Linked DNA regions of Homo sapiens: regions 1, 3, 4 and 5 are each linked to region 2. Evidence: promoter capture Hi-C in human tissues and cell types (Jung and others, 2019). All regions are on one chromosome and are shown on one strand. Each heading gives the region's core, a stretch centred on a gene start or on the middle of the fragment in contact. The rest is flanking DNA. Distances are from core to core; before and after follow the strand shown. Region 1 holds the start of C19orf18 (chromosome 19 open reading frame 18). Region 2 holds the start of ZNF211 (zinc finger protein 211). Region 3 holds the start of ZNF264 (zinc finger protein 264). Region 4 holds the start of ZNF135 (zinc finger protein 135). Region 5 overlaps ZNF547 (zinc finger protein 547).

Region 1 (3,247 bases), core at 210-2,709, 340 kb after region 2:
CGGTGGAGGTTGTGGTGAGCCGAGATTGCGCCACTGCACTCCAGCTGGGTGACAGAGTGAGACTCCGTCTCAAAAAAAAAAAAAAAAAAAAAAAAAAAAAAAAAAAAAAAAGGATCAGAGAGCCAGGCAGAGAGGCCAGGGAACCAACAATAGTGTCCTTTCCTCGGACACAAATTACATGCAAATGTATCACACAGACAGCATTTCCCTTGCATGGAATGGAGATTATTTACAAGCATCATATATCTCCACAAAGGGTTGCTGAGCTTCAAAGATTGTCGGGGTTGGTTTTGCTGTTATAAGATAAACAAACATCCTCTAGTACTCAAATTAGAAGGGAACCATAGAAAATGCTTATAAAGAATTCTCGGCTGGGCATGGTGGCTCATGCCTGTAATCCCAGCACTTTGAGAGGCCGAGGCGGGCGGATCATGAGGTCAGGAGATCAAGACCATCCTGGCTAACACAGTGAAACCCTGTCTCTACTAAAAATACAAAAAATTAGCTTGGCGTGGTGGCGGGTGCCTGTAGTCCCAGCTACTTGGGAGGCTGAGGCAGGAGAATGGTGTGAACCCAGGAGGTGGAGCTTGCAGTGAGCCGAGATCGCGCCACTGCACTCCAGCCTGGGCGACAGAGCAAGACTCTGTCTCAAAAAAAAAAAAAAGAAAAAAAAGAATTCTGTACACTCACAAACCTTCTGTGTCTAGACTTGCATGCTCTACTGCCAAATGTGCACCAAATTCAAGTCAGACAGGCATACCTGTGTAATCTGGATGGGATCAAGGTTTTTGTGTGCGCTTATTAAAGTGAAATGAAAAAGAGAAGAAAGTGGCAATCCCTAAAGAGAAAGCAGTTAACAGAGAGTGAAGAGCATAAGATCTAATTTCCAAGCAAATGTTTATCTAATTATACTCTATTTTATGGACCTTTCTACCAGCAAGCACACAGTACACATTCACATGGCAGATAAGAGGACTCCAGGCTACGATTCTCACTCCACTGAATGAGGAATTCAATGACTCACCCGTGGATCTCGAGGCAGCCCCTTGAATCCCAGGCAACTGGGTTTTATGAAAGAACACTTTGGGCTCTTTGGTGATGTTTCTGGGTGGTTGTGACCGTTTACTGCCTTGAAAAGAAAACTTTTTGCGGTGAAATGTAATTACCTTCTTTTTATCTCCCCTGAAACAGCTTTTCAATTCTCCCTGAGTCACATAAAACCAGTGGTTGAAGCTACCTGGTAAGCCTGTTATGTTTCCAGTGGGATGGAGTCCATCTGCATACGGCAAGCATAAATGAAGTTGGCATTCCATTAAAAACAAAAACAAAATGAGGAAACCACTCTGAACCTTGTCCATCACTCTCAAATTATCAGTATTTTATCCCGTAGATGAAAGGAAATACTTAGCTACAGTCCAGCATCTGTCCTCTATTTATCTGAGGAATCAAGAAGTTCTACTCCCTTCAGAATGTTTGGGCAGTGACTTGGAGCCACCAGTGTGAGGTCAGTCCTTGCTGTGATAATGGAGTTCCTTCATGGAACCATGCTGACCAATGGGGAGACTACAGTGTAAGAGGGCAGTGCTTGGAGGTGCAGGCATGATGAGACCAGGTCCCTGCCTGCAGTGTGCAGATTAGTGAGGAGGCAGAAAGAAATCAATTACAGTCAGCCCTCCGCATGCATAGTTCCCCATCCGTGATTTCCAACAACCTCACTTGGAAAATGTTCAGGAAAAAAGGAATGGGCACGGTGGCTCACGCCTATGATCCCAACACTTTAGGAGGTCAAGGTGGGCAGATCGCTTGAGGCCAGGAGTTCAAGACCAGCCTGGCCAACACAGTGAAAGCCCATCTCTACTAAAAATACAAAAATTTGCTGGGCGTGGTGGTGCACACCTGTAGTTCAAGCTACTTGGGAGGCTGAGGCATGAGAATCACTTGAACCCAGGAGGTGGAGGTTGCAGTGAGCTGAGATCATGCCACTGCACTCCAGCCTGGGCGACAGAGCAAGACTCTGTCTCAAAAAAATAAAACAACAAACACAAAAACAAAAACTAGCCAGGCATGGTGGCGTGTACCTGTAGTCCCAGATACTCGGGAGGCTGAGGCAGGAAGATCACTTGAGCCCAGAAGGCAGAGGTAGCAGTGAGCCAAAATCGTACCACTGCACAAAGAAAGAAAGAAAAGAAAGTGGAAGGAAAGCAGTCACCCTTAGAAGGGAGGCAATGTGCACAGGGGAGACCCACAGCAGGAAGGTAAAGGGGGACTCCTGATGACTGAAAGTGGGCCCTAGGCTTCAGAGATGGGAGGAATAGAAGACGGGCTCAAAAAAGGCAATGAACTATGTCATGTATGAGGGAGACAGAGGGGACCTGGGAGTGCTGGATGTTAGGGACCACTGAAATCAATACTGTCCAGGCTGTGCATGATAGGTGAGAGGAAGGGAATACTTCCAGGAAGAAGCAGAAGTCTGGGACTTTCTTTTGACTCGTGATGTGACCTGACCAACAGGAGGCCCTTTTTTTTTTTTTTTTTTTTTTTTGAGATGGAGTCTTGCCCTGTCACCCACACTGGAGTGCAGTGGCACAATCTTGGCTCACTGCAACCTCCACCTCCTGGGTTCAAACGATTCTCCTGCCTCAGCCTCTGGAACCGCTGGGATTACAGGCATCTGCCACCACACCCAGCTAATTTTTGTATTTTTAGTAGAGATGGGCTTTCACCATGTTGGCGGCCAGGCCAGTCTCGAACTCCTGATCTCATGATTCACCCACCTTGGCCTCCCAAAGTGCTGGGGTGACAGGAGTGAGCCACTGTGCCCTGCCAGGAGGCCCTTTAAGACATTAAAAAAACTCTTATCTGTTTAAACAGAGATGGGATCTTGCTACGTTGCAAGGCTGGCCTTGAACTCCTCAGCTCAAGCAATCCTCCTGTCCCTCCCAAAATGCTGGCATGAGCCTCGGTGCCCGGCCTAGAAATTTTTTCAAGATAATAATCTTAGTAATAAGGTTATAAGTTACCAGGATGCTTGTGGTATATTGCATATGACTTATGAAATCCTTTGGAATCTCTAAATCAGATAATTTGGATTCACTCTGGCTATTAGAATACAATATCCACATCCTACTGGTAGTATGATTCTGGATATATTATGCTGCTTTCTCCAAGATGAGATAATACTGCTAACTTCATTCTCTCCAAGGGCCTTTGCACAAATCATGTAAAAAAAAAATCCATCAATAACTAA
Region 2 (3,482 bases), core at 465-2,964:
TCACAACTTTTAATTTTATTTTATTTTACTGGTATTAATTTGTCCTAAAGGATCATTTTTATTGTGAAACGTAAAATTTGATCTATCTAATATATATAAAATGTATATGTGTACATTTAACAATGTGCATATATGTACCTTAAAATAATATAAACTTTCTGGGCGACGGAGTGAGGCCCTGTTTAAAATAATGATAATAATTTGATATTTTATGCATTAAAAACTTTTGTCTGGGCATGGTGACTCATGCTTGTAATCTCAGCAGTTTGGGAGGCTGAGGCAAGAAGATTGCATGGCCCTAGGAGTTTGAGACTAGCCTGGGCCCTATAGGGAGACTCCATTCCTACAATAATTTTTTTTTTAACTAGCCGGGTGTGGTGGTGTGCTTGTAGTGCCAGCTACTCAAGAGGCTGAGGTGGGAGGATCACTTGAGCCCAGGAAGTGGAGGCTGCAATGAGCTATGATTGTTCCACTGTACTCCAGCCTGGACAACAGAGTGAGACCCTGTCTCAAAAAAAAATTAAATGTTTTGATTATACAAGGAAAATGAACATTCATGTATTAAAGCTTCATGTTTTATGAACAAAACTGACTTTGCAGGCAGGAGAGCGTTTTCTGGGGGCACCAGAAGCAGGGAACTTCCCTTGTCCGTTGGCTTCAGGGCTGCCCACTATCCCTCCACTATCTTCCCATTGTAGCCCTGTCTGGTGTCTTTTGTCCCTGACAAAACCTACAAAAAGTGACTTTAACACTTCAGGCTGCATGCATTTGAAGAGCAATAAGATAACGTTTTTTCGCTTCCCACTACCAGTGGAGATCTGCTGGGGTGGGCTGCATGGAATCTGAAATGATGTCTAAATACTGAAGTGAACCTCTACACTAGAGACTGATATACAGCTGACCCTTAAACGACGCAGGGGTCAGGGATACCGACCCCTGCGGAATTGAAAATGCTTGTATTACTTTTGACTCCCCTAGGTCTTAACTACTAATAGCCAACTGTTGCCCGGAAGCCTTATGAAGTTGCCCGGAAGCCTTATGAATTACATAAACTCCCAGTCGATTAACACATTTTGTATGATATATGCATGATATATGCATAATATATATGATATATGCATTTTGTATGATATATGCATTATATATATTTTAGTATAAGAACTATACTTGTACTAAAACAGACCAGAGAAAGGGTATCAGGAAAATTGTAAGAGGCTCGTTGACATTACACCCAATTAAAAAAAGGAAAATAAAAGAATACGGAAGGGAAAATACATTTACTAATCATTAAGTGGAAGTGGATCATCATAAAGGTCTTCATCCTTGTGTTCTTCATGCTGGGCAAGAGAATGAGGTCTTGCTGTCTCTGGGGCAAGAGGTCGGGGAGCTGGAAGAGGCAGGAAAAGGAGCACACTCGAAGTAACGTTTATTGGGGAAAAAAAACGCCTACGTGTAAATGGACCCGCACAGCTCAAACCTGTGTTGTTCAAGTGTCAACCTACTTAAGACCTCAAACACCGAAGCCCCTCAGTCGCCCTGGAAGGCAGCAGACGCAGCTTCCTAGCGCTCCCAGCTGTCTGCACACAAGGCGCCCTCCGTCGCAGCCTGGGGGAGACTACATTACCCAGAAAGCCTTGCGTCGAGCGGCAGTACTTTGATCCAATGAAAATCCAAGACAGGGGCATTTCCGTGTGGGTCTACCCCCGCCCCCCCCAGGGCGGGACTTGTGGCGTCTTCGCAGCGGTCATTTTGGCTGCCCTCCCGGAGGTCCGTTCTGTCTGTCAGCCGCTTTGGTACGCTGCATCGGGATCGAAGTGACGGACCGTGAAGGCGCGAGAGTCAGGTCTGAGGGTCGGGGGCAGAGCCGCCCGCGAGGCCGGCCTGGGGATAGCGATGCTCGGGTTCCCCCCGGGTCGCCCGCAGCTCCCGGTCCAGCTCCGCCCACAGACTCGGATGGCGACCGCACTGAGGGACCCGGCTTCGGTGAGCGCTGCGATCTCCGGGCCTCCCCCGGCCGAGATTCTTAAGTCCCAAGTGAGAGGCACCAGCTCACGTCTCTGTAGCACAGGGTCGGGGACACTGAGGCTCGTGGGTGGGGCCCCTATTTCTGACATCCGATGTGGTGGGCAGGGGGACAAGGGACAGGACCGGCGCGTGCAGGGCTTGGACGGGCAACCGAGAAGGGGGCATTCAGGAACCTGGGCTCCACATTGTTACTGCAGGGAACAAAGTTTGAGAGAGATCTACCTTTATTCTTAGGGCCGTGGGAGCCATAGAGAGCTTGCGCAAACGAGAGACACCATCTGAGTTAAATTTGAAAAATCCTCTGCAGGCTGTTCAGTGGAAGAAAAGACTTTAGAGATGGATGAGGACGTTGAGGCAGAGGGAGGTTGAATATTTTTCCAAGGCCACACAACTGGTGAGAGGCAGCACTAAGGACCGAGGCGCACAGGTTAGACAGTCGACCCAAAGTTACGTGGCTCTGGGCCGGGGCAAGGGTACAGGGAAGGCCTGTGCCCATGGAGCACTGCCATGATCACATTCCTCTGAGGCCTGCGTCTTTCCACAGGTTCCCATAGCTACAGAGGTGCTTTTCAAACTTACACAGGTAAGTGGAGGTATCTCAGCCCCTCACTGGTCTGGAATGTCCCTCCACCCTCCCCAGACAGATATTTTCTTTAGATTTGTGGTGTCATGGGACTCACCTACCATTCTCTCAGCGTTTGGTTTGGGAACCCTGGAGAATCCCTGAGCTAAGGGCCCTGAGTCCAGGCCAATGTTTCCATTTGGAGCAGCCAATGGAAAGATGGGTGAAAATTTATGATAGAAACAGGTAGGTACCAGCTTTTGGAACTCCTTGGAGGTGAGGCTGAGCTGGTTCAGGGAACTGCAGGTTTCCTTTATTTCTGTGAAGTTTGGCATCTATTGTGAGGAAGTTGGAGTTTGGGATCAGAGGAGGGAGATTTATCTAACCCAAGTGTTGACAGGATACAGAGTGGAAAACAGAATGAACACAGTGACTAATGGGAATGTGAAGAGACAGCAGGGATCAATGACACCAAGGTCTGGTGTCTCTTCTGACTTGGGGATCTTGGGAGGAGAATGTATGGGGACATGGATTTTGAGTCTTCCAAATTGAGACTGTTCATGGTTTCATCAATCCCTATTATGCTAGGGAAGTGTGACCTTTGAAGATGTGGCCGTGTACTTCTCCTGGGAGGAATGGGATCTCCTTGATGAGGCTCAGAAACACCTGTACTTCGATGTGATGCTGGAGAACTTTGCACTTACGTCCTCCCTGGGTAAGGCCCTCATACTCACCCTTGTGCCCTGGACTAGGCTCTCTGTTTCTCCTTTTCCTCAGGAGCAGCTCTGTCCTCATATCTGGACTATAGGCACTGCCTCCTTCCCCAGTTCCCTGGGTAGATGTTGTGGACTGAGTGCAAGCCTACTTCCCTTATCGTCCCAGCCCAAAAGCATCT
Region 3 (3,384 bases), core at 810-3,309, 440 kb before region 2:
TAAGAGGTCTTTGGGTGTTGAGTCTGAGAGATTCCTTATGAGGGGTTCCAGCAAAGCCAATTTAGGAGGAATTGTATAAACAGTGATTCTTGCTGTAGTTTGGATAAGTATGGTGGGACTGAAGCTTGTTTTGCAGGTAAGTTGTTCCTGCTGTGATTTGCTTTTGATGGAAGTCAGGGACTAGAGAGAGAAAAACTGTTTCCAAAGAAAACTATAGTGCTGCCAGGTGCAGTGGCTCAACTTTGGGAGGCTGAGGTGGGCGGATCATGAGGTCAGGAGTTTGAGACCAGCCTGGCCAACATGGTGAAACCCCGTCTCTACTAAAAATACAAAAATTAGCCAGGCATGGTGGTGGGCACCTGTAATCCCAGCTACTCGGGAAGCTGAGGCAGGAGGATCGCTTGAACCTAGGAGGCAGAGGTTGCAGTGAGCGGAGATCGTGCCACTGCACTCCAGCCTAGGTGAAAGAACAAAACTCTGTCTCAAAAAAAAAAAAGAAAGAAAGAAAGAAAACTATAGCGTTAGATTAACCTTTGAGTTAATCTGAGTGGCCACGTGGTCATCTATGGTATGCAGCCACCCACAATACCCCTCCTCAGCATAAAGCAGCCAGAAAGATCACGTCCAGATTCCCCATGATTGAGGAATTGATAAATAGAAACAGGGAACTGAAACCAGCTCCAGTGTCCCATAGAACTGATATTTATGGTTTCTTTTGAATCAACACATTATAGACATTGAGCCTCCCCTTCCTAAAACTCGAGACACTTTTATTTGTCTTATCTGATTTCCTTTCTCAGGAAACCAAGCATCAGGCCTCCCAGATAGTATAAAGAAACTGAAACTTACTGGATTACCACATCTGGAAAAACGAGATGCTATACCCCTTACCCATGATGATTGCCTAACTGACCATCTGCTGCCTGTTGACCCATTCCTCTTCCTTACCCCTTCCTAATTCCTGTTTTCTCAAACATAGTTACACTTCTTCCCTGATGTATAAACCCCTAGTTTTAGTCAGTTGAGGAAAGAGATTTGAGATTGATCTCCCATTTTCCTCAGCTGCAGCACCGAATAAAGCCTTCATCCCTGACAATACTCATTGTCTTGCTGACTGGCCTTCTGTGCAGCAAGCAGCAGGATCTAGATGCAAGGACCTGGCCTTTCTGGTAATATTGTCATCAACCATTTAATGATGTAGACTTGGTCCCCGGCTCATGCTCTGTGTATTTTCTTCTCCATCTACATGCATTGCCTTGATGGTCTCACTCAATATCATGACTTGAAATAACAGTGTAAGGTAACTCCTAAATTCATATATTCATGCTCAAACCTTCTTCCAACATTCAGTCGTAAGTCGAATTGCCTGTGACAGAGATACTTTGTGGTTCTGTAGACATTTCAAACTAACCATCCTGAGCCTCCGAACCTCCTCCACTTGCAGCCTCCCCACCTCAGAAGTGGGCAAATCCACTTTTTGTGTGGTCTGGGCCAAATACATGACTCCCTGCATCACGTAGAGGCTGTGCTGGTCCAAAGAAGGCTCAAAAGAGGGCAGTTTGCGCACACAACGTGTCGGGGCAGGGCTTCCAGATGATCATTCGGCTTTTTTGTGTCTTCCAAGATGATGATCCGGGGAGGAGGGATGTGAAAGGGGGTCAGTCGCCAGGCGAGCTGAGGACCCAGTTCTGCGCCTTTGCCTGTGCCCTGACCTGAAGGAAAGTCCCTGTCTCCCGAGCTCCGATTTTCCCGAGAGAAGAATGCAATGTAACCCTTGCCCCTCGGTTCCCTCCCTCCATCCTTCCCCTCGAGTTGTGCCCACCGTAAAGAGGTGGGTCTGGAGCGTCTCCTCGGGTCCTGGAGTGCCTTTCCCTGGGAGGAAAACTTGCGCCGTGAAGCGTTCCTCCCGTTGTTGAACACATGAGGAAAACTACACTACTTAGAAGGCTGTGCATTATGCGTACGGCGGGAGCTGGGCCAACGACGGCCTAGGACGGGGACGTTTCCGACGGCTCACGCCGGTGGGGGCGGGACTTCCGGGTTGCTCGCTGCGGACGCCATTTTCTTCTGCACTTCTGTCTGGAGAGGTCTGTAGCCACTGAGGGCCCCGGTCGGGGCCGCTTTGCAGGTCCCTAGTCAGGACCGAGCAGGGGAGTAGGATAGGAATCCCCGCCGCACCTTTGTACGAGCCTGACCCCTTCCGTGGGTTTGTTCCTGGGTCGCCGTCAAGCTGCGGTCTCTCCTCCCCCGCCCTTCAGCCCCGCGGTCTCCAGGGGCGGCGCCCTGGGTCTGGAACGCGGTTGCCACCGAGGAGGCGGCGGCCCTGCGTCTGGAACGCCGTTGCCACCGAGGAGGCGGCGGCCCCGAGCGCGCCTGGAAGCCCCGGGCAACCGGCCAGGGTCGGGCACAGGTGGGGTCCGTCAGGCCGCCCGGGGCTCCTCTGTCCCAGCTCTGCGGCCCAGGGGGTGACGTGATGGCGGCAGCGGTGCTGACGGACCGGGCCCAGGTGAGTGGACGGTGGCTTCGCGGTTGCCGCTTCCTTGCCAGCGCTGAGGCGGTTTCCGAAGTGGGTGGGAGCCCAGGTATCCCCTGGATTTGTCTTCGCAGTCGTCGTTCGCTTTGGTGTGTGGAGCTGGTTTGCCACTTAATTTATACCTGGCCGTAAGGAGTGTTGGGCCTACTGGAAGGAGCTCCGTAGGTTGTTGAGTGAATGATGCTTCCTCTGGGGACTCCCATCATCCTTGGCCTGCAAGCATTCTCTGGTGGACCAGGTCTCATTCCAGCATGAATTGGGGGCCTGAGGGGGGAAGGGGAGGGCAGGGCAGTAGCAAGCCGACAAATGCGCGAGCAGAGACAAGGTATGTTGTATGTTTAAGGAGGCTCAGGAGGGTGTGTAAGGTTGCCATGGTTTTCCTGCGGCCGCTGAGACGTGGAGGGCAACAGTGTGTGGTCTTTTCCTGGATGTTCTAGCCATCCGCAACTACTGCAGACATTGTGGCCAGTCAGATGCCCTTACTCTCATCGCTACAGCCTGCATTATCCTTGGCCGCTCGTGTTCCGTGGCCCCAAAGTATCCTGGCGTCAGAGACAAGTTCTGTCGGAACCCAGTAAGGAAAGAGGCCGATGGTTGGTTCATTGTGGAATTTCCTTGGGGGATCTGGGAGACCCAGGGAGATCCCAGAGGGCATGGGAAGCTGGTCTGGAGCCTGTCGTTCCCCAAGTAGATGCAGCCCTTCCAGTGCCGCTCTGTGGGGTCAGTGAGGAATGCTGAGCTTTTTGTGCCCGTGTTCACATACTTTTTTTTGTTTTGAGACAGGGTCTCACTCTGTCGCCCAGGCTGGAGTACAGTGGTGCACTCTCAGCTCACTGCAGTCTCTGCCTCCC
Region 4 (3,200 bases), core at 695-3,194, 430 kb after region 2:
ATTAACTTTTTGAACATTAACATACAGCATGACACAGTTCTGCTATCCATGCTGTGATTGCAGGATTGCTTGGAAGCTGTACTGATGTGCAGCCCACCTGCTCATGGTGGGGGGTCCTGTTCCAGGCCACAGAGAGGCAACCAGCAATGCTCTGCTTGGAGATTCGTACAGGAAGCCAAGAAGGAGCTGAGAGGGGCCCAGCCAGTGGTTACAAGAGACAGCAGGAGGTTCAGACCACAGCAAGGGTGGCACTGGAGTAGCCTCCAGCTCATCTTATTTGACTGGTAGAGTGTTATTAAAGCCTTTGAAATCCCTACCAGCTTTTAAAAATCAAGAGATTTCACATAGAAATCCTGATCTCTGGGTTCTTTAGAGAAATCCAGACCTGGGACGCTGGGCTTGCCAGTCCGCACGACCCCACTTGGCTGGAGCCAAGCAGCACTTGCCCCTGTAGAAAGAGCCCGCCCCTGCAAAAGCATGTACGGTTTAGAAACCTGGCTGAGAAAAACAGAGGATCAGAAGGTCTGAGGGAGGAAACAGAGGGGCAAGTTTGAGGGAGCTGGGCAGGGCCGCCTGGCCACCATCAGGGCTGAGCAGGCTCAGTGTGGCACCACTGACAGCTTCTCACCAGGACTATCAGACCGCTTGGGAAAAAGACTTCACCATGAGTTGTGTGTTCATACCTTTTGATCCAGTAAAAGGAAACGGTTGGGGGTGGGGGTGGGGGGCAAGAGTATACATTTTGTGAAAGAAAAAATACACAAAAAGATGTTTTGTGGCATTTGGGTTTGTGAGTTCGAGAACTGAAAAACGGCATTTTATGTATAATGGAAAGCCTCTTTACTGCTGTAGAGTGAAAAGCAGGCTGGCTTTCAGTGCGACGGTCACAAATGTGGGGCTTTACAGTACTTGGAATGTACAGGACGCCCTTAAAAGCCAAGAAGCTTGCCTTTGCTTTGTTTACATCAGTGCATTATGATTTTGAGCCATTATATCTCTTCATAATTGCCACTGTTTTAGGGCTTATGAAATTTAAAGTCTTAACTTGTGTGTTAACCAGCCAAATCTTTGCAAGTGTCTGTGTGTGGTACGAGAATTCGTATTGTGTTCTCTGCTGTTTTCAGAGTTGTTTCAGTCAAAGAAAAAAAAATGCCCGTCTTAAAACTTTTCCTCTGCTTCAAATACAGCTCCCAAGCCCAGGCTGATTGGAATTAATCTGTCCTCCCTTAAAAGGGCAAAAGCACAAGGCTCAGCCCTGGCTTTCCCAGCTCCTCTGGTCTCGCTGCTCCACGGACGTGTGACGTACGCTGGTGAAACGAAGCCCGCTTGAATGGGGGCTTCACTATTGTGTGCTGCTGAACCTAGGCCTAGCGCCTGGCAGGCTTTGGTGAATGTTCAGAAAATGACAATTCATTTCGTGTCAGCGAGGGCACACCAGCTTTGAATATTTTGCTGCTGTTCAAATGCACAATTTTGACAATTACCTAGCAATGTCCAAAGTCGTCATAATTGTTAGTGTCTTGCACGTGATGTTCCTTATAACCATGTAATAAATACAGTGTGAAGTCTCCATGGCTGCCTCAGTGTGGAAAATGCAAAGACTCCCGTGTGTGCGATCTTGGTGAATGTTTTGGTTGAAAGTATGTGTTTTGAAAAAATCATTGCTTTGTTTGCAGCAGTAAAACTGACGGTAGAGTTTCCAACACGAAAGCCCGTGTGGTCGCGCCGGGAGCTCACGGCGTTCCAAGCGGCACTTATCCCGCGTTGATGCCCAGGCACCCCGCGCGCCCTGTTTCACCAGGCCCAGTCACTCCAGCTCCAGCAGCACTGAGAGCTCACGAACGCCAAGGGCGAGAGCGAGGTGGGGGAGGGCGGCCGGAAATGCGCGCGCGGCTCTCTGGGAAATGGAGTTAGGCTCGCGCCGGCGCAGTGTCGGCTGCCGGTGCCGCGGCCTTTGTCTCGCAGTCAGGAGGGTGAGCTAGGCCGGCGAGGAGGGGGAGGGGAGGCCAGGCCGGGCCGGGCCGGGCCGGGTGCGGGGGGTCCGGGGATCTTCCTGAGGCCCTGGCGGGGCGAGTTTCCAGCAGCGCGCGTCTGTGTGGAGTCCGTTTTGCTGCCCGGGGCCTGGGGAAGGCCGTTTCGGGGCTGGCGGGGGCAGGCTTTGCGGGGCATCCCTAGTCTGAGAGGAGGGCGGGGCCCAACGCCCAGCTGGACAGGAGCTGCTCCGACGGCCCCTGAGGGAACGCGCGCCCCGCCCCTGGCCCCACCTCTGCCCCACACCGGGCACTGGGCCGCCACCTTTGTTGATGGAAGAGAGAAACTGAGGCATAGTGCCCAGGGCCAGGGGACCGCAACCACCCGGCCCTTGTCACTGTAGCGTTAAGGCTCAGAGTCTGCGCAGCAGATATGTGTCCGCACCCGCCAGGCCTTCAGCTTCCCTCAGACAGGCGGGAAAACCCTAGGCTGCCCTTCTCCGAGCGGAGGGCCGCCCCACACACAGCAGGCGCTTAAACGGGTACGCGGGGCCCTGGACGGCTCTCCGCGGAGCTCCCCAGGCTCTGGCGCAGTTCCCCGGCTTGGGGACCTGAGCACCGCCTCTGCCTGCCCCAGCTGCTCACCTCCCCTTTCCCACAGAGCAGGGCCAGCCGTTCCTGCCAGAAGCCAGGGCATGACCCCTGGGGTGCGCGTCTCCACAGACCCGGTGAGAATCTCGGCCTCCTTGCGCGTGTCCTCCACCTCGTGCCCGGCCTCCTCGCGCGCGGCCTTCTCACGCCCGGCCTCCTCTTTGCACCCCGTCCCTACTCGCGCTCAGCCTCCTCCTTGTGCCCGGCCCCTACTTGCGTGCCCGGCCCCTACTCGTGCCCGGCCTCTACTCGCACAACTGGCCTCTACTCGCGCACCTGGCCTCTACTGGTGCCCGGCCTCTACTCGTGCCCGGCCTCTATTTGCACATCTAGCCTCTACTCGTGTCCGGCCTCTACCTGCACACCCGGCCTCCTAAAGTCCGCGCCAAGCTCCCCAACCACAGCCTGCCTCTGAAAGGACCGCCCACGCCGCGCTGGAGGTCAGCGGGCACGGGTCCCTGTCTGAGTGGGCTTTATGTTTGTGCGGCCGTCATTGCATACCTGAGGCTGGGTGATGTCAGAAAATTGTAGGTGCCCCGGCTCTGCAGTCTGAAGTTGAAGGCCTTAGCATGCTCTGCG
Region 5 (3,075 bases), core at 1-2,500, 260 kb before region 2:
GTAAGATCTTCCCATCGTTGCCCATTTCTCACGGTTTCCCTCTTCCTTCAGGGTCCCCTGGCGATGGCAGAAATGAACCCTGCACAGGTGAGTGGAGTGTTTTCTACCTTTCACCTACCAGTTATCTCATAGATGGTTTTGGCACCTCCATGTAAAGAAAAGTGGTGTCCAGAGACTCTCTTTCTGTCTTTCTCCCTCTCTTATGTCTGAAAAGTGAGTGATTCCACCAGTTCTAGTATCTTAAATTAGGTCTGGGATTTTTGTTTGATTGTTTTAAGTTTACTGTGACACCTTACCTGGATGGCCCTGGATTATGTGGAGTGGCTCCCATTTTTGACAGTTGACGTGGTAACATCTGTCAGAGTGTCATGGGCACAAGATTAAGAATGTTTCAGTGTTTAGAGGAGAGACTGAACTGGATTTTTAGGGAACTGCAAGTGTCTGTTATATCGGATAGGAATAGGGAGCAGAGTGGGAGGTGGCTAGAGACACACAAACATCAGGCCTGGAATGACAGCCTAGGTCCTGGGTCTCTAATCTAAGGGAGGTGGTAGATGGGGAAGATTTGAAGCAGAAGAGGGCAGTGATAGGACCCTAGCTTAAGGAACTTTCTTTGGCGTCTGAGTGGAGGACAGACTGTGGAGGTGAGGGTAATGGCAGGGAGATCTGAGAGGATGTTCCTGCAGCAGTCTAGGTGGATGTTGGTGGTGACTTGTCAAGAGTAGCGGTGGCTTCAGGATGTGTTTTGAACTGGAGCTGCCCACATTTTATGATGTAGAGAGTGAGGCAGCTGGGGGGGTGGGATAGAAGGGGAATCAGGAGTGGCCCCATGGTTTTTGTTTGGAAGCATAGATGCTCCATCAGCTAAGATGGGAGAAGTCAGCAGTATTAGGAATTTTCAGAGTGAGTGTGAGGAGTCAGTGTTTGTTCAAGCCACAGATGTCTCAGAGACTCCTGGTGGAGGAGTTCAGGTTGGAGACGTCCACACTATGGTGGCTGTCGTATGGACCAGGATGAAGCCATGGATTCAGTTTAGGTGACAGCATCTCTAGGTTATGGTGGCAGTGCTGTTCGAAGACAGAGAATTGGAATGGGGCATGAGAACTGGGTCTCTTACTGGGTAGCTGTGCAGTGGTGGAGGAGTCACTAGACAAATGAGGGAATGGAGTGTTTGTGGGGATGAGTGTATGTGAGATGGTGGGGTATAGGAGTGAGAAAGACTTCTGAAGGAGAGTGGACATGATGGGGTTGCTGAGGAGGGTAATAGGGTGAGGTCGGAGAGTTGCTAAGCATCAGTTGGAATGAGATGAGGATGGGAATTCTATTAGTCTGTTTTCATATTGCTACAAAGAACTACCTGAGACTGGGTACTTTATGAAGAAAAGAAGTTTAATTGACTCACAGTTCTTTTTTTTTTTTTTTTTTTTTTTTGAGATGTGGCCCAGGCTGGAGTGCAGTGGCACAATCTCGGCTCACTGCAATCTCTCCCTGCCAGGTTCAAGCGATTCTTCTGCCTCAGCCTCCTGAATAGCTGGGACGACAGACTCACCCCACTACGCCCAGCTAATTTTTGTATTTTTAGTAGAGATGGGCTTTCACCATGTTGGCCAGGATGGTCTTGATCTCCTGACCTCGTGATCCATCCTCCTCAGCCTCCCAAAGTGTTGGGATTACAGGCGTGAGCCACCGCACCCAGCCCATAGTTCTTCAGGCTTAACAGGAAGCATAACTCGGAGGCCTCAGGAAACTTACAATCCTGTGTCCATGAGGCAGGACACAGCTGAGAGTATGTGAAGTCCTCACATGGTTTGGGCACCTGACAGTGAAGTGAGAAACAGGGCCATGTAGGGAACCTTCAACCCAGGGCTTAGGGCTGCCCCCGGTGCTAGGGAACTTTGGTGTTCTGGGGCAGGACTGGGAGTGAATTGGATGCTGAGCGTATTTGCCGTGCACCACCTGGTTTCTGTGTGCAGAGTGGCCTGTTAGGAGGTGAAGGAAATGCCTGTGGTGTGGGCTGGGAGGTGTCTGTGGAATTGACTGGAGTGGAGGTGTGAGAGATGGGATTGGAGTGCTGTCCAAAGAGTGATGTGCAGGCAGGAGGAGTGTGAATGGAGGGCCTCAGGCCCTGGCCCTGGTAGCTCAAGGGAGGAGGATGAGTCTGAGTTTGGTTGTCTTGGGAGGCAAGATCTGGGTGACTCCATGGAAACTGGCTGGCAGGAGAGGATGGATCCCCCCACGGGAGGCCCACATTCCTTTTCTACCTTATCTTCCATCTGTTTCCTCTGTGTGCTGGACACGGTGGCCAATGTCAATATGGAGAGAAAAGTCACTCATGCCACCTGGATGTGGTTTCTCTTCCACATTGGGAGGGTGTAGAGATTGAGGAAGGAAAGGAGGTGTAGGGGAGAGGGATGAGTTCCTGGAGAGAGAAAAGTAGCAGTGATTGTACCCATTGGGGTTTTTTGTTTTTTTTTTTTTAGATGGAGTCTTGCTGTGTTGTCACCCAGGCTGGAGTGCAGTGGCATGATCTTGGCTCACTGCAACCTGCACCTCCTGGATTCAAGCAGTTCTGCCTCAATCTCCCAAGTAGCTAGGACTACAGGCATGTGCCGCCATGCCCACCTAATTTTTGTATTTTTAGTAGAGATGGGATTTCACTGTGTTGGCCAGGCTGGTCTTGAACTCCTGACCTCAGGTGATCTGCCCGCCTCAGCCTCCCAAAGTGCTGGGATTATAGGCATGAGCCACTGTGCCTGGCCCCCATGGAGTTTTAATTTATGGATGTGAGTGAGTGATGCCAGGGACAGGCCAATGACACTGAAAGAAGATATTTATTCCTTACGTTTCCCTAAGGAGGTTACATACCACATAACACAGGGCCACACGGTGAAACACCAGATTTGATCAGGAGGAAAATTGGAGTGAGTTTAGTTTAGTCCACAGATGCTGTTGGGGTTTCCAAGGGAAACAAGGCAGGGCTGGCTGTCAGGATAGTTTGGCTAGTTTTAGTAATTCCAGGACACCTGGGCTATTGGGACTGTCCCTAGTTGTGCAGTACCTGTCCCTGGGTTGATT

What was found. The method cuts DNA at HindIII sites, captures the fragments that hold promoters and counts their contacts. A contact is called where the count stands out against the background at its distance.
Region 1: the fragment with the promoter of C19orf18 here is called in contact with the fragment with the promoter of ZNF211 in region 2 in 2 of the 25 tissues and cell types used here (pancreas and psoas muscle).
Region 3: the fragment with the promoter of ZNF264 here is called in contact with the fragment with the promoter of ZNF211 in region 2 in 1 of the 25 tissues and cell types used here (ovary).
Region 4: the fragment with the promoter of ZNF135 here is called in contact with the fragment with the promoter of ZNF211 in region 2 in 2 of the 25 tissues and cell types used here (adrenal gland and small bowel).
Region 5: a fragment that was not itself captured here is called in contact with the fragment with the promoter of ZNF211 in region 2 in 2 of the 25 tissues and cell types used here (heart left ventricle and spleen).

The regions. Positions count from the first base shown.
Region 1 is chr19:57,973,075-57,976,321 of GRCh38, forward strand. C19orf18 (chromosome 19 open reading frame 18) reads right to left here and starts at 1,460. Exons shown (of 6, transcript NM_152474.5): 1 at 1,238-1,460; 2 at 1,025-1,129. The coding sequence starts at 1,358. The HindIII fragment of the contact is 10,862 bases long and covers 1-3,247 here.
Region 2 is chr19:57,631,454-57,634,935 of GRCh38, forward strand. ZNF211 (zinc finger protein 211) reads left to right here and starts at 1,715. Exons shown (of 4, transcript NM_006385.5): 1 at 1,715-1,983; 2 at 2,570-2,608; 3 at 3,176-3,302. The coding sequence starts at 1,894. RefSeq lists enhancers at 1,315-1,404, 1,475-1,524 and a silencer at 1,965-2,034. The HindIII fragment of the contact is 12,794 bases long and covers 1-2,722 here.
Region 3 is chr19:57,189,441-57,192,824 of GRCh38, forward strand. It overlaps ZNF264 (zinc finger protein 264), which reads left to right and starts at 2,060. Exons shown (of 4, transcript NM_003417.5): 1 at 2,060-2,506. The coding sequence starts at 2,474. RefSeq lists enhancers at 1,896-1,955, 1,976-2,065, 2,076-2,135 and a silencer at 2,306-2,575. The HindIII fragment of the contact is 13,408 bases long and covers 1-3,384 here.
Region 4 is chr19:58,057,338-58,060,537 of GRCh38, forward strand. It overlaps ZNF135 (zinc finger protein 135), which reads left to right and starts at 1,945. Exons shown (of 5, transcript NM_001289401.2): 1 at 1,945-1,973; 2 at 2,632-2,698. The coding sequence starts at 2,666. The HindIII fragment of the contact is 8,855 bases long and covers 1-3,200 here.
Region 5 is chr19:57,368,493-57,371,567 of GRCh38, forward strand. It overlaps ZNF547 (zinc finger protein 547), which reads left to right. Exons shown (of 4, transcript NM_173631.4): 2 at 52-87. The coding sequence starts at 64. Among named protein-coding and RNA genes, the nearest start is that of ZNF547, 6.5 kb to the left of the region's middle. The HindIII fragment of the contact is 8,803 bases long and covers 1-3,075 here.